Regions from separate parts of the Homo sapiens genome. Here regions 1 and 3 are each linked to region 2. Evidence: promoter capture Hi-C in human tissues and cell types (Jung and others, 2019). All regions are on one chromosome and are shown on one strand. Each heading gives the region's core, a stretch centred on a gene start or on the middle of the fragment in contact. The rest is flanking DNA. Distances are from core to core; before and after follow the strand shown.

Evidence for each region. Contacts are between HindIII fragments. The study calls those that stand out against the background at their distance.
Region 1: a fragment that was not itself captured here is called in contact with the fragment with the promoter of CELF4 in region 2 in 1 of the 25 tissues and cell types used here (dorsolateral prefrontal cortex).
Region 3: a contact is called between a fragment that was not itself captured here and the fragment with the promoter of CELF4 in region 2, in 1 of the 25 tissues and cell types used here (dorsolateral prefrontal cortex).

Annotation. Positions count from the first base shown.
Region 1 is chr18:38,594,255-38,598,233 of GRCh38, forward strand. No RefSeq gene overlaps it. Among named protein-coding and RNA genes, the nearest start is that of MIR4318, 940 kb to the left of the region's middle. The HindIII fragment of the contact is 5,190 bases long and covers 1-3,979 here.
Region 2 is chr18:37,563,690-37,567,628 of GRCh38, forward strand. CELF4 (CUGBP Elav-like family member 4) reads right to left here and starts at 2,109. Exons shown (of 13, transcript NM_020180.4): 1 at 1,667-2,109. The coding sequence starts at 1,952. It overlaps LOC124904288 (a long non-coding RNA gene), which reads left to right and starts at 2,588. Exons shown (of 2, transcript XR_007066345.1): 1 at 2,588-2,700; 2 at 2,890-2,999. RefSeq lists an enhancer at 1,653-2,156. The HindIII fragment of the contact is 29,207 bases long and covers 1-3,939 here.
Region 3 is chr18:38,573,934-38,577,734 of GRCh38, forward strand. LOC112268212 (a long non-coding RNA gene) reads right to left here and starts at 3,737. Exons shown (of 3, transcript XR_002958210.1): 1 at 3,567-3,737; 2 at 1,034-1,798; 3 at 1-179. The HindIII fragment of the contact is 5,644 bases long and covers 1-3,801 here.

The DNA.
Region 1 (3,979 bases), core at 441-2,940, 1.0 Mb after region 2:
CAGCAATTAACTTATTACTGCCTTTAGCACACTTAGGTAAATTAACACAACTATATTACAGATATGAATATTTATCTAGGATGACCAATAAAATGAGGAGAGTTGGTCTGCCTACCTCACACTGGTCATGTTGGGAGCTCCAGAAATTGCCAAACAGGGTATGAGGGAAATCTTGAGGTGAACAGAAATGGTGAAACGTAGAAGAAGGGATGCCATCTCACAGTGGAGGGGAACAATCTTGCTGTCTCTAGGAGAGTAAAGGTGATTCAGCTTCACAGGGGTTCTGACCTAGGATCCAGTGTAGGTCTCCATAAATGTGGTGAGTTAATAATGATGCTTTCTGGGATCTTCTTGTTTTCAATGATGGGCACTGTGGAGGCACCAACTGTAGCAGAGGACATGCCAATAGACCAGAGGCAATAGCATCATCACACAAAGGTCAGGAGATGAGCCCCTTAATAATATGTATACAGAGATTAAAGAATATTGGAAAATGTGGTCAAAAAAATATTAAGTCTTCTTCTACCCTCAGCACTCTGCTGGAGAAAAAATGAAATCTTGAATGGGCAGAGCTAAGACTTTAGCAATTGTGTCAAGGTGGATTTCTCTATACTGAAAGTAACTTCTAAAGGGGACTAGTATGTACCACTATTTCATGGAAATTCAGACATAATTCCTTTCTGCTTCAAGCTTGTATTCCAATGAATGATACAGACCAAAAAACCAAATGCCTGCAAATTAAATCCCATATAGTTAAAAAGAACTACAATCATTAAAAAAAGGAGATGATAGAGAATAATGGAAAATTTATTTTAGATGTGATAATCTAGAAAAATTTTATTAATAAGGTAACATTGAAGTTAGGAACCAAACAATTGTAAATATCAGGAGAAGGCCTCTGAAACCCTGAGACAGGTGAAACCTTGACATAATAGAAGGATGGAAAGAGCAAATTATAAGAGGGTAGCAAGAAAAAGGAAGAGTGCTGCAAGACAAAGTTGGAGTGAGATGTAGGACCCTATCACTGGGTAAGAGGGCTGGAGTCACAGAACATATGCAGTCACTCTGGGTGTTTGAGGGGCATGGCCCAATCAAATTTACATCTATAAATAAATACTTATGAGAATTCAAGGCAGGCAGAAAAGCAGAAGGTTACAGTTAGAGTTTTGCCGTCATCCAAGGGAGTTGAGGTGTCCGGACTAATGTAGTGGAAGTGAGGACATTCAAAAAGATGGCAGATTTGTGATGGGTTTAGGAGAAATGACAGGGTTGGCTGATGTGTTAGTTAGGGAGGGTAAAGAAAAGGGAGGAGCGTTTGAGAATAACGTTGCATCTCTGGTGAAAAACTAGGAAAAGAGTTTTGGGGAGAAAGCAGGAGCTTTAATTTACATATGTTTAAACAGATGTGTTAAGGGAGGCAGTTGAATATAAAATTCTGTAGAAGGGCAGTAATAAAGATAGTCTTTGTTTGTTTAAATCTCCTTGAATTTTCTTCATACTCGTGGTTATAAAGAGACAGTTTTTGCTGGTGGTGTTATTTATTTAAACTTTCATTCATTCAATCAAGATGATATATTATTCAAGGCCTTGAGTAAGGTGCTGTGAGGGTATGAAGATGAGAAATATACCCTTACAGGTTAGACTATACCAGGATATGCCTGCTTCCAGCCCTGCTTATGGGCTCCAGAGTAACATGGTCCTGGCTTTAGTGTTACTTCGGCCAGTAACTGAGTTTTGGCCTTTTGCTTAACTTCATGTCCCTCATCTCCAAAAATAAGGACCCAAATACCTTAATTTATGGCATTTTGGGAAATGTTAACATGGTAAACATGGGGAAACAATGACCAGCACTTAGGCAGTTTTCACTAAAATACGATTAGTGTTGTTTGTAGGAACATTTGTTTATATTTATTTTGGGGTGTGTCAAATATGGACACTGGCAAACTGGAAGTTATCCAGAAAAAAAAATAATCAGGGTATCAAAGGATCTCAATCATAGCATGGCAAAAAAACAAAACAAAACAAAACAAAACAAAACAAAAAAAAACTGCACATTCTGCTTTGGAAAAAAAAAAGTTTTAGGGATATTTCGTGGCTGCATTAAAGTGAAATTCTATAATAAACAGGAAGATGAGATCTCATTCTGAAAGCAAACTTTAGGCACTTGGATGGTTTGCTTTATTGGCTAGTGAATTCCACAATGGGGCAGTGTTCAGGCAGAGCCTAAGAGATATTTAAGTGAAGGTAGAGGGCCAAAAATCCATATAAAGGGAGGCTGCAAAGAATGACCTCACAGTTTCTTTACTTTAATCCTAGTGCTATTTCTATCAAGGAGTTTACAAACAAGTAGAGCTGTTGAAATTAGAATAAATTAAGTGGAATACAAGGCAGTAAGCGATACAGTGTTTTCAAGAATTTTCCTTCAAATAGAGTAAAAGTCTTTTTTTCCAGGAATTCTTAGAAAAACCCGATGTGTTAAATTTGAACTCCTTTGATAAAGCCTCGTCCATGCATCCTTTTTCTTTCCCCCCGCAATTTTCTTTTTCCTTCAGTTAGATCTTTAAAGCACTCTGGTGGAACAAAGACTTCTCCAATTGAAATTTACAAGCATGATTTAAGACTGTATTTTTATTTCCAGAAAAGAATAAATCACTTAAATTTGGGGTAACCTTGGGAAAAGTACAATTATAATAATGCTCATCAAGCACCTAGATGACTACTTAGCATTTAGTAGGCCTCTGAGTGGCAGTTTCCATCTTCTTTTCCTCCTTTTGCGCTCACCATCCATGAAAGCACATGCTAATGTTTCCCTCCTTGAAGTCCTTCAGTCTTACCTAACTCATTAAATCACTTAGTAATACTTAATTGTCTTTTAGCTTTCAATGTTTTAGGATTGTCTCCCTAACTAGACTTTTATATTTAAAAAGCCTTACATGATGCCAATAATTCAGTTAGCCATGCTGTCTACATTTGATATTTGGACATGTGATCTTATTAATGATTTTGTGCCCCTTCCCATTGCTAAAGGCCACTCTTTAAAGTGCAACATCCCAATTAAATTTATAGGGCATATCATGGCTTATAGAATTCATAGAAAATAATATTGACATTAAGATAATTCAGGATGTATGGCCCACGCTTTATATCCATTACAGACAGACTGTATAAATGATCCAGTTGGGGTGTATTTTGAACATGGTTTCAAGCTATGAACTAAACTCACTGTCAATTTTGTGGAAGGTTTTCCCAATTCCATGCTGCAGCAACTTACAGGAGGACCAACTTATAATGAAGTCCCTGTGCTACTGCCTCTTGTCCTCCAGGAATTCAGATCCTGGGCAGAGGCCATTATCTTCCTGAACTATCACCCAATATTCTGAATAGAAGGTTCAGGGCACATGAATAATGCCACACTAGGAGAGGAGTGTCTGTGTTCCCAAGCTTACCAATTCCCATATGCCTCCCTGTCTACCTGTTGTGGCAGAGCTGCAGCAAGAAGCCAATTATTTCAGAAGGCTTTTGTTTTGCAGTAAGGCAAGTTCACTGACTGCTGCACATTAATTCCTGGCTATAGATATAATGGCCACCTGGTTAGTTTCGCCTACAAATGTCAGTCCACAGGAAAAACTCTAATCCCCAAACTCTAACACTATTAAGCAGAAAAGATATTAAGGCTTATGTTGGACCTGATTGGAGAGTAATTATGATTCAATCTAACAGAAGTCTTCATAGTGAGACTATCTGACTTCCTTCCATGGTGCAGTAGCATCTTGTATTGTGAGAACTCTAGCAATGAACAGTATTCAATGGAGAAGACCCGTATGTGATCTCCATGATGGAAGAGAAAGGGCCTTTGCTCAAATATCATCCTATAGAAAGAATTCCCATTGAAAAGAAGACAGAGTCTCAGAGTCCTGAAGAAGATAGGTCATTTGAAAATATTTTTAAGATTATACATGTTTCAACTTGTTTTTCGTTA
Region 2 (3,939 bases), core at 859-3,358:
AAAGGTTGCCTTCTCTCTCCATTACAGCCCCCACCCTCACCCCACCCCAACAAACCCAGTATATTTCCATTCTGCTGTGTTTTTGTGTTACTCAACATGCCATTAACTTTAAGATTTACTCCTCAGCAGGCAAGCTGGAAGATACTAAAGCCAATAAAAACTGCTCTCTGGGACTCCAACTATGAAGAGTTTGGAGCTCTGTTTAGTATTCGAACGAAGGGAGGGCTGGAGAAAGAGGGTGGTTGTGATAGTGAAAATCGCTGCTGCTTAGAGAGCCAGACAGCTCTGCGCTCTGCACCTAATGTGCTGGAGGATCAGCTGTGTCCATAGCCCATTTGTGGCCAAGGATGAGGCTGCTCTCTATGTGGGGGTGGGTGTGCGTGTGTTTTCATCTTTAAAACCACCAGCTGTAACAGCATCTTCGGCGGCTCTCCACACTACTGTTTATTAAAAACGGAACATCCATACACATCCCCTACAACTTCCTTAGCCCCGTGCTCCTTCCCTGCCTGGCGATCAATCTCTCTCAGAAAGCATTTAACTTGCCCACATAGATCCAGCACCGATTCATTCCCGCTGCACATCCTATATATTACTGTTAGGAAGCGGAGCACTGGGCTAATTTCGTCACCCACCAGCCACCCACACACATTCTACAACTGAACACGTTTGGGGCTCTGCTTTAAAGATAATAAAACAAGGAGAAAACAGGCAGGCTGCGGACAATTCCCATGACCACTTTCCTAAAAAGTTGCTGTGTTTTAATTCTTTGATTATTCTGTCTCCCCCTCCCCCAAGCACTCACTGGCAATGATCGCTTCAAGGGAGAAATAATGTACTATAAAGCTCTCTGCATGGTGAGTTTGGGATAAATTAGGGTACACCTTTCAAAATGCAAATCTCGCACACACATATTTTTTTCCCAAAGCCCCGCTTTCCTGGGAAGGGGACTATCCAGGCTTGCCAGACCCCCCACTCCACCCAGGGGATGGCTGGTTCCTTGCTAATTCTTGCCTTAGGTTTTATCACTGGTTCCTTCAAACATCCAACCCCCCCACCCCCAACACACACCACCATTCACACCACAATCAGATTATTGAGGCACACAGCTCGACAGGGAGAGTTTACTGTTACATTTAAATAAAAATTTCTCTTTGAATTTGTCACCTCTCTCCCTTTTAGACGGCTGCGCTCCTGCTACTCTAGCCCGGAGCAAAGGATGAGGAGACCACCTCCTTTAGTATTTTCAGCACCACGGCGATGGACAGCACCCTCGGTCCTCGGCCGGCCAGGAGCCCGCGAGTCCGTCCGCTCAGCGTCCTGGGCTCGACCGGTGCAGCCTTCCCCATCCCCATCTTTCAGGTCGCTGTACCCAAAAATCCAAGCCCCGTCTCCTCGATCCCCTCTCTCTTTCTCTTCATCGGCGCCCGCTGCTCTCTCCATGGCATCGTTCCTATCAGCACCTCGCCCAAAACCCAGTCTTGCCCCAGCGAACAGCTCCCCACGCACCCCAGCTCTGGTCTCCGCTGCCCGAGCGCCTCCCTCCACCGCGCCCGCCCGAGGCTTCCTCTCGCTTAGTCCGCCGCTCGTCAGTCGCCGGCCGGCCGGTCGGCCCGCCAGCCCGCTCCTGCTCCCCGGCAAAGTTGGGAGGGAAAGGTGTACTCACCTTTGTGCATGCCTGTGAACCTGTCCTTCAGAACCGTAAGCTCGTAGATTTTGCCAAACTCCTCGAAGAGGGGCTTGAGGTCCTTCTCATCCAGGTTGCGGGGGATCTGCCCAATGAACAGCTTGATGGCATCGTGGTCCTTCATGGGAATGGTCGACGGGTTCCCCGGGCTGTGGCTTAATCCGTTCATGTGCCCGGCACTGCCCGGGCTGCTGCCGAGCCCGTTGGTACTGAGGCTTGCGTTGTCAGCCTGTCCGTTTGCTAACGTGGCCATCTTTATATACATAGAGAAAATCTTCTTTCCTTTTATTCTTTCTCGCTCACACTCTCTCGCTCCTCTCTCTCGCTCGCTCGCGCTCACACACGCACACGCATACACACACTCGGGTTCTCTCCCCCTCGGTTTCTCTACACCTCGCTCTCCGCTCGCTCTCTGCTCTCTCTCTTTCTCCTCTTCTCTCGCTCGCTCGCGCTCGCGCTCTCTCTCTGCTCTCCCCCCTCTCTCTCTCCCTCCCTCCCTCTCCTCTCTCTCTCCCTCTCTCTCTCCCTCTCTCTCTCCCTCTCTCCTCTCTCTCTCGGTCTGATCTGATTTTTTTTTTCTTTTTTTCTTTTTTTTTTTTTTTTTTTTTTTTTTACATTGAACAGACAGGATCTCTGTCCTTTCCGTTTAAACAGGCTGGACCGGTTCAAGTTCCCAGCCAGACCAGGGGTGGGGGTGGCGAGTGTGCGCGCGCGGAGGAGGGCGCGGGGGGCCGGGAATGGGCGCGCTGTGGGGGCCCGCGCCACGGCGGGCGGCGGCCGGGGGCAGGGCGGCGTGGGGCGGCGGCCACCGCGCCTCCCCCGTCGGCGGCCCCGCGCCGTGGCGATGGTACAGTCCGAGACGGCCCCCGGCTATAAATAGCGCCAGGCGCATGGCTCTTCGGGAGGCGCTGAGATTCCGGGCCCGGCGGCCGCGGGGAGCGGGTGTCCGTGAGGAGCCGGGCAGCCGGCCTCCTCTCTTTGCCTTTTGGGGGTTCTTTTTGTAATAGCAGCAGGTGCAACTTTTTGTATTTTAAAAATAGTGATTTTTATTTTCGTGTGGGTATGTAGGGGGGCTTTATCCACCAAGCTATGCTCTATTAGGGCGCCAGGCGGGCGAAGCAAAGGCAGGGATGGCGGGCGGGGCGGCGGCGGAGGTGGAATGGGCGCTTTTTTCTTCCATCTGGCTTTATTTATTTATTTAGACTAGAAAAGCGAGCCGGCTTGGAGGGAGTCCGCCCGGGGATCCGAGCGCGCATTCATCAGTGTCGAGAGAAAAAAAGCTACATAAATATATATTATGTGGATAAATCTATAGACAAGAGCTCTCTCGCGCGCGCTCTCTCCCTGTCTCTCTGTGTGTGTCTTTCTCTGTTTTTTTTTCCTCCTCGCACCCCCAACCTGCCAGAGCAGCCCCACATCTTCCTCCCGCCCGGCATCTACCGCCACCCAAGCCACCTGCCAGGATGGGGCTGGGAGCTGTCGGGCCGCGCCGGGGGGCAGAGGGACGGGGAGTAGAGACTCGGGGTCCGACCCCCGCCCCAACCCGCTTCCGAAGGCGGAAGGTGGGGGTCCCCGTCCCGGGCGGCCTCCCCCGCCCCGGAGAGCGCGGCTGGTCCCCCGGTGGCTGGCGGGAGGAAGGTAGGAGTCGGGCGCCCCTGCCCGCTCGCCCGCCGGAGGGGGAGGAAGGCGCTGGGCGCGGTGGCCGGTGAGCCAGCGCGGGGGATGGCTTGATTTGCCCTCGTCTGCTTTACGGGTTCAAATAGAATATATTTTTTTAATCACCATCAAAAGAATAAAGCCCCTGAATCGCTATCTGGGTTGCCGCCGGACCGAGACTCGCGCGGCGTGCGCTGCCCCCGCGGGTTTCGTTTTCGGCACCTACAGCTCCCGAGGTGCGAGGCTGAGTCGTTCCTGCCGTGGGGACCGGGGGTCGAGCCGCCCGGTCCGGACCCCGCCGGACTCCCCGCCAGGCCCACTGGGGCTGGCATCTCGGCTGCGCGGGAAAGGGAGTGGCAGGCGCGGAGCCGGGAGCAGGGTCCGAGCGGCCCCGCCTGTAGGGGTGAATACTGGTGGTGAACTTGGCTGGGGTAGCAGATTTTCACGTTAATGATATTTACCTGCACCCCGTCCTCTCTCATGTTTGCTTTTTCAGGGCAGCCTCTTCGCTTCAGAAGCCTGGCAAATTGAAATAACGCGCCCGCTCCCCCGCGGGCTGCGGGGCTGGGGAGCTGGGGCGGCGGGGCTGAGCGGCT
Region 3 (3,801 bases), core at 953-3,452, 1.0 Mb after region 2:
ACTTAGGAATATTTTAAAAATTCAATGTCTAGACTGTGACTTCATCCACTTACGTCAACTCTGGCGTGGGACTCCAGGTATCTGTGGCTTCTAAAGCTCCTCAAATTATTCTAGTGTGCAGCCAGGGTTAAGGATGTCTTTGTTCAAACCAGCTTTAGTGAATTCAATTCAATTGTCATCTGTTATGGGCAAGACATGTATTGATATACTCTATGTAGTGACTCATATTACAAATTAATACTTAAGCTTAATTACAGGATTTTTTAAATGTTATTTTTGCTGATTAACTATACTTTCTTTTGACAAAAAAATGAAATAATAGAACTCAAAATGCCAGCTCTAGTTGCTGAATTGGCCTTTTTGGTCAAAATAGTTTTTTTTTTTCTTATACTTTGATCAATTAGATACTTGTATTCAGATATCCCATGGGAATTTTTAAAATGTAGATTCACGTCTCAAACCATCTGAATCAGGATCTGTAGGGTTTGGCTCAAAAGTCTACATTTTAAGACATTCCTTTAATCACAATATTGGTTTATATGCCAATCAAATCAAGTTCTGAAAACATCTATTCTTTTTGTATATTAGAGATGCCTTTTATCTTTAATACCCCTTCACTATTTCCAGGAAAAGTTATCCCAAAATATGCTCCTTTTTGTGTGTGGACCTTATGAATAATAATAATAATAATCTGTGTAGACCTTATGAATAATGTAAACTGAAATTATCTGTTGGCCATATATTCCAGAATGTTTGTTGGGATTCGGTTAGCTGCAACATACATAATAACACAAACTCTAAAATATATAATAATTTAAAGATTATTTCTTGTAACTTTTTTTTTTTTTTTTAAGACAGAGTCCTGCTCTGTCGCCCAGGCTGGAGTACAGTGGTGTGATCTTGGCTCACTGCAACCTCCGCCTCCTGGGTTCAAGCAATTCTCCTGTCTCAGCCTCCCGAGTAGGTGGGACTACAGGCACCTGCCATCACACCAGGCTAATTTTTTGTGTTTTTAGTAGAGACAGGGTTTTACCTTGTTGGTCAGGCTGGTCTTGAACTCCTGATGTCAGGTGATCCACTCACCTCGGCCTCCCAACATGCTGGGATTATAGGCATGAGCCACCACACCCGGCCTCCTGCTGTCTTAATCGTTCAAGCAGGCGTTGCTAGTCAGCCTGAAGTTTTCCTCCATTGATGACTGAGTAACTGAGTTTCTTGACGGCTTGTGGTATCACCATCCCTCAGGGCTTCTCTATTAGCTTCACCCAGGCAGAGGGAGGGGCAAGAGAGCAAGGAGTGTGGTGGGACCACATCCAATACACACCTTGGCCCAGAAATAGCACCAACACCTCTGTGGCCGCAGTCAGCCACTTGTAGGATATCATATGCAGTTATAAAGAATGAGTCAAACACACTAAAAAAGACTGAGGCTAAAGAAATGAAGAGAAGAAACTCGGACATTATCTTTTTGACCTCTAGACAAAATCATGCCTGATGCTAGATTTACCTTCAAACTTCAAAATCATGTGAACCATTTTTTTTTAACACAAGCCAAGATGGGTACCTTTTCCATCATGAAAAGAATAATAAAATAAGAAATATTTAGTTTACCAGGAAGATGACATAGAATAGCAGTCAAAAATATAAAATAATAAATTATTTAACATTTCCTTTTTTTCTTATTTTGCTGCTAATATTGGTCTGTGCACATTATGGCAAACCTGTTGACTAAACAGTCAAGTTTCTCTGAAGTCTGTGTCAATGTAAAGTCAGCATTTCCTCTGCCTTTGGTGAGGTGCTGAAAAGAGAAACCACAAAGCTAAGATGAAGATGTGCTGAATCTCCTTGGATCTCACCTGCAGTTCTAGTCACAGTACTCAAAATAAACATGGTGTAACTAGGGAAGTTTTAAGAAAAGGGCATTGAGATGACTAAGGGGAGGTTGAGGCAGTCATTGCTTGATAATGACTGAGATGTGTAAGCCATGCTTAGACAGGACAGAGAAAGACGTGAAACAGGCAGTGTGTCTGGAGGCCATGCTTAACTGAAAGTGCTATATGCCCGACATCAAGCCAGGCACTTGAAGAAACACTGACTCTACCATGGCCCCTGGCCTTAAAAGCCCCACATTTCCTACAGAAGATGATTCTATGATGTGTCAGATTGCAGAGTTTGGGGACATTTGGACCTGCGTTTGAAATTTAGCTTTACTCTCTTTTGGTTACTAAACTTAAGCAAGTCACTTAACTGCCATGAGAAGAGATTTTTTTTTTAATCTGCAAAATGGGAATAACAATAAACTTGTCATATGGGCAATCTCATTAGTATTATAGACATTGATCCTTAAAATAGGATCAACATCTATTAATAAGAATAGCAGTAATCCTCAAAACTTGAGATCCAAGTTTATATAAAGTAGACACATTAAGAAATGTCGTGATGAACTGATGAAATGTGATATTCAAAATGAGGGATGTATTAGCCCATTTACACACTGCTATAAAGAACTGCCTGAGACTTGGTAACTTATGAAGAAAAGAAGTTTAATTGACTGACAGTTCTGCAAGCTGTACAGGAAACATGACTGGGAGGGTCAGGAAACTTACAATCATGGCAGAAGGTGAAAGGAAAACAAGCATGTCTCACCATGGTGAAGCAGGAGAGAGAGAAAGCAAGCAGGGAACTGCCACACACTTTTAAACCATCAGATCTCATGAGAACTGAGTTACTATCATGAGAACAGCAAGTGGGAAATCCACCCCCATGATCCAATCACCTCCCACCAGGCCCCTCCCTTGGCACTTAGGGATTACAATTCAACATGAGATTTGGGTGGGGACACACAGCCAAACCATATCAAGGGACAAGAGGACAGGCGAATATCAACATCAGTTTTAGCGTTATACAAATGGATGGGTTCTTCAGAAAAGCAATTTTTTTCTTAACACTTTAATGATGCTTCTGATAAAAGACACAATTCTGAGAATAATGGGTAATAGGGCTCATAAAAAGGAATTAAGATTTTTAATAATGCGTGGGTAAAACTTTGACATTTATGAAGTTTATTAAACTATATCCAGACCGCTTTTTCTCCAAGTTGTTTAAAAAAAAAAGTCTTTGCAGTAAGAGTAGACTGGTTTCTCTGATGTCTGTTAACCTCATTGTGTTCAGTGAACAGTCACGTGACCCTTAAGCAGGAAGCTGTTTCTACTAACCCAATTCACTTCACAGATATAGAGGGCCTGATCTGCTTCTTTTCTTTCTCTTCCCTCTGAATGTATTTTGGTACATCACATAAGTAGCATATGTTTATATAAGCTATTATACATATGAAATGTGTAATATGCATATTTTAACCTTCGTTTAATCTATATACTGAACAGTAGGAAAAATCACTGGAGTGCCACTCTGGGATTGGCAAACTGGCCTAGTTTTGGAGGATTTCTATGCTGAAGAATGGCAGGAGAGCTCCTTGCTCACACATCCTCTAAAGATATTTTTTATAAGGGTCTATAACAGTGGGTCAAAGAAATAAAGTAAATTGTTAGAAATCTATATTTGATTACCTTGGTGATCATAAAGAAGAGTGAATATCAGCCTGAGACACAGCACTGCTGCTTGAAGTGATTGGAAAGTATCCTTGAGAAGCTAATCCAAAGAAATCAAAACTAGAAAGGATTTTAGAGGTTATTAGTTTGCTACTCTATCGTAAAACTGAGTAAAGTAAGGCTTAGAATACTGAGAGAATGTAAGCCTCAGTTTCCTCAGTGGTAAAACAATAACACCATTATGAAGTCAGTG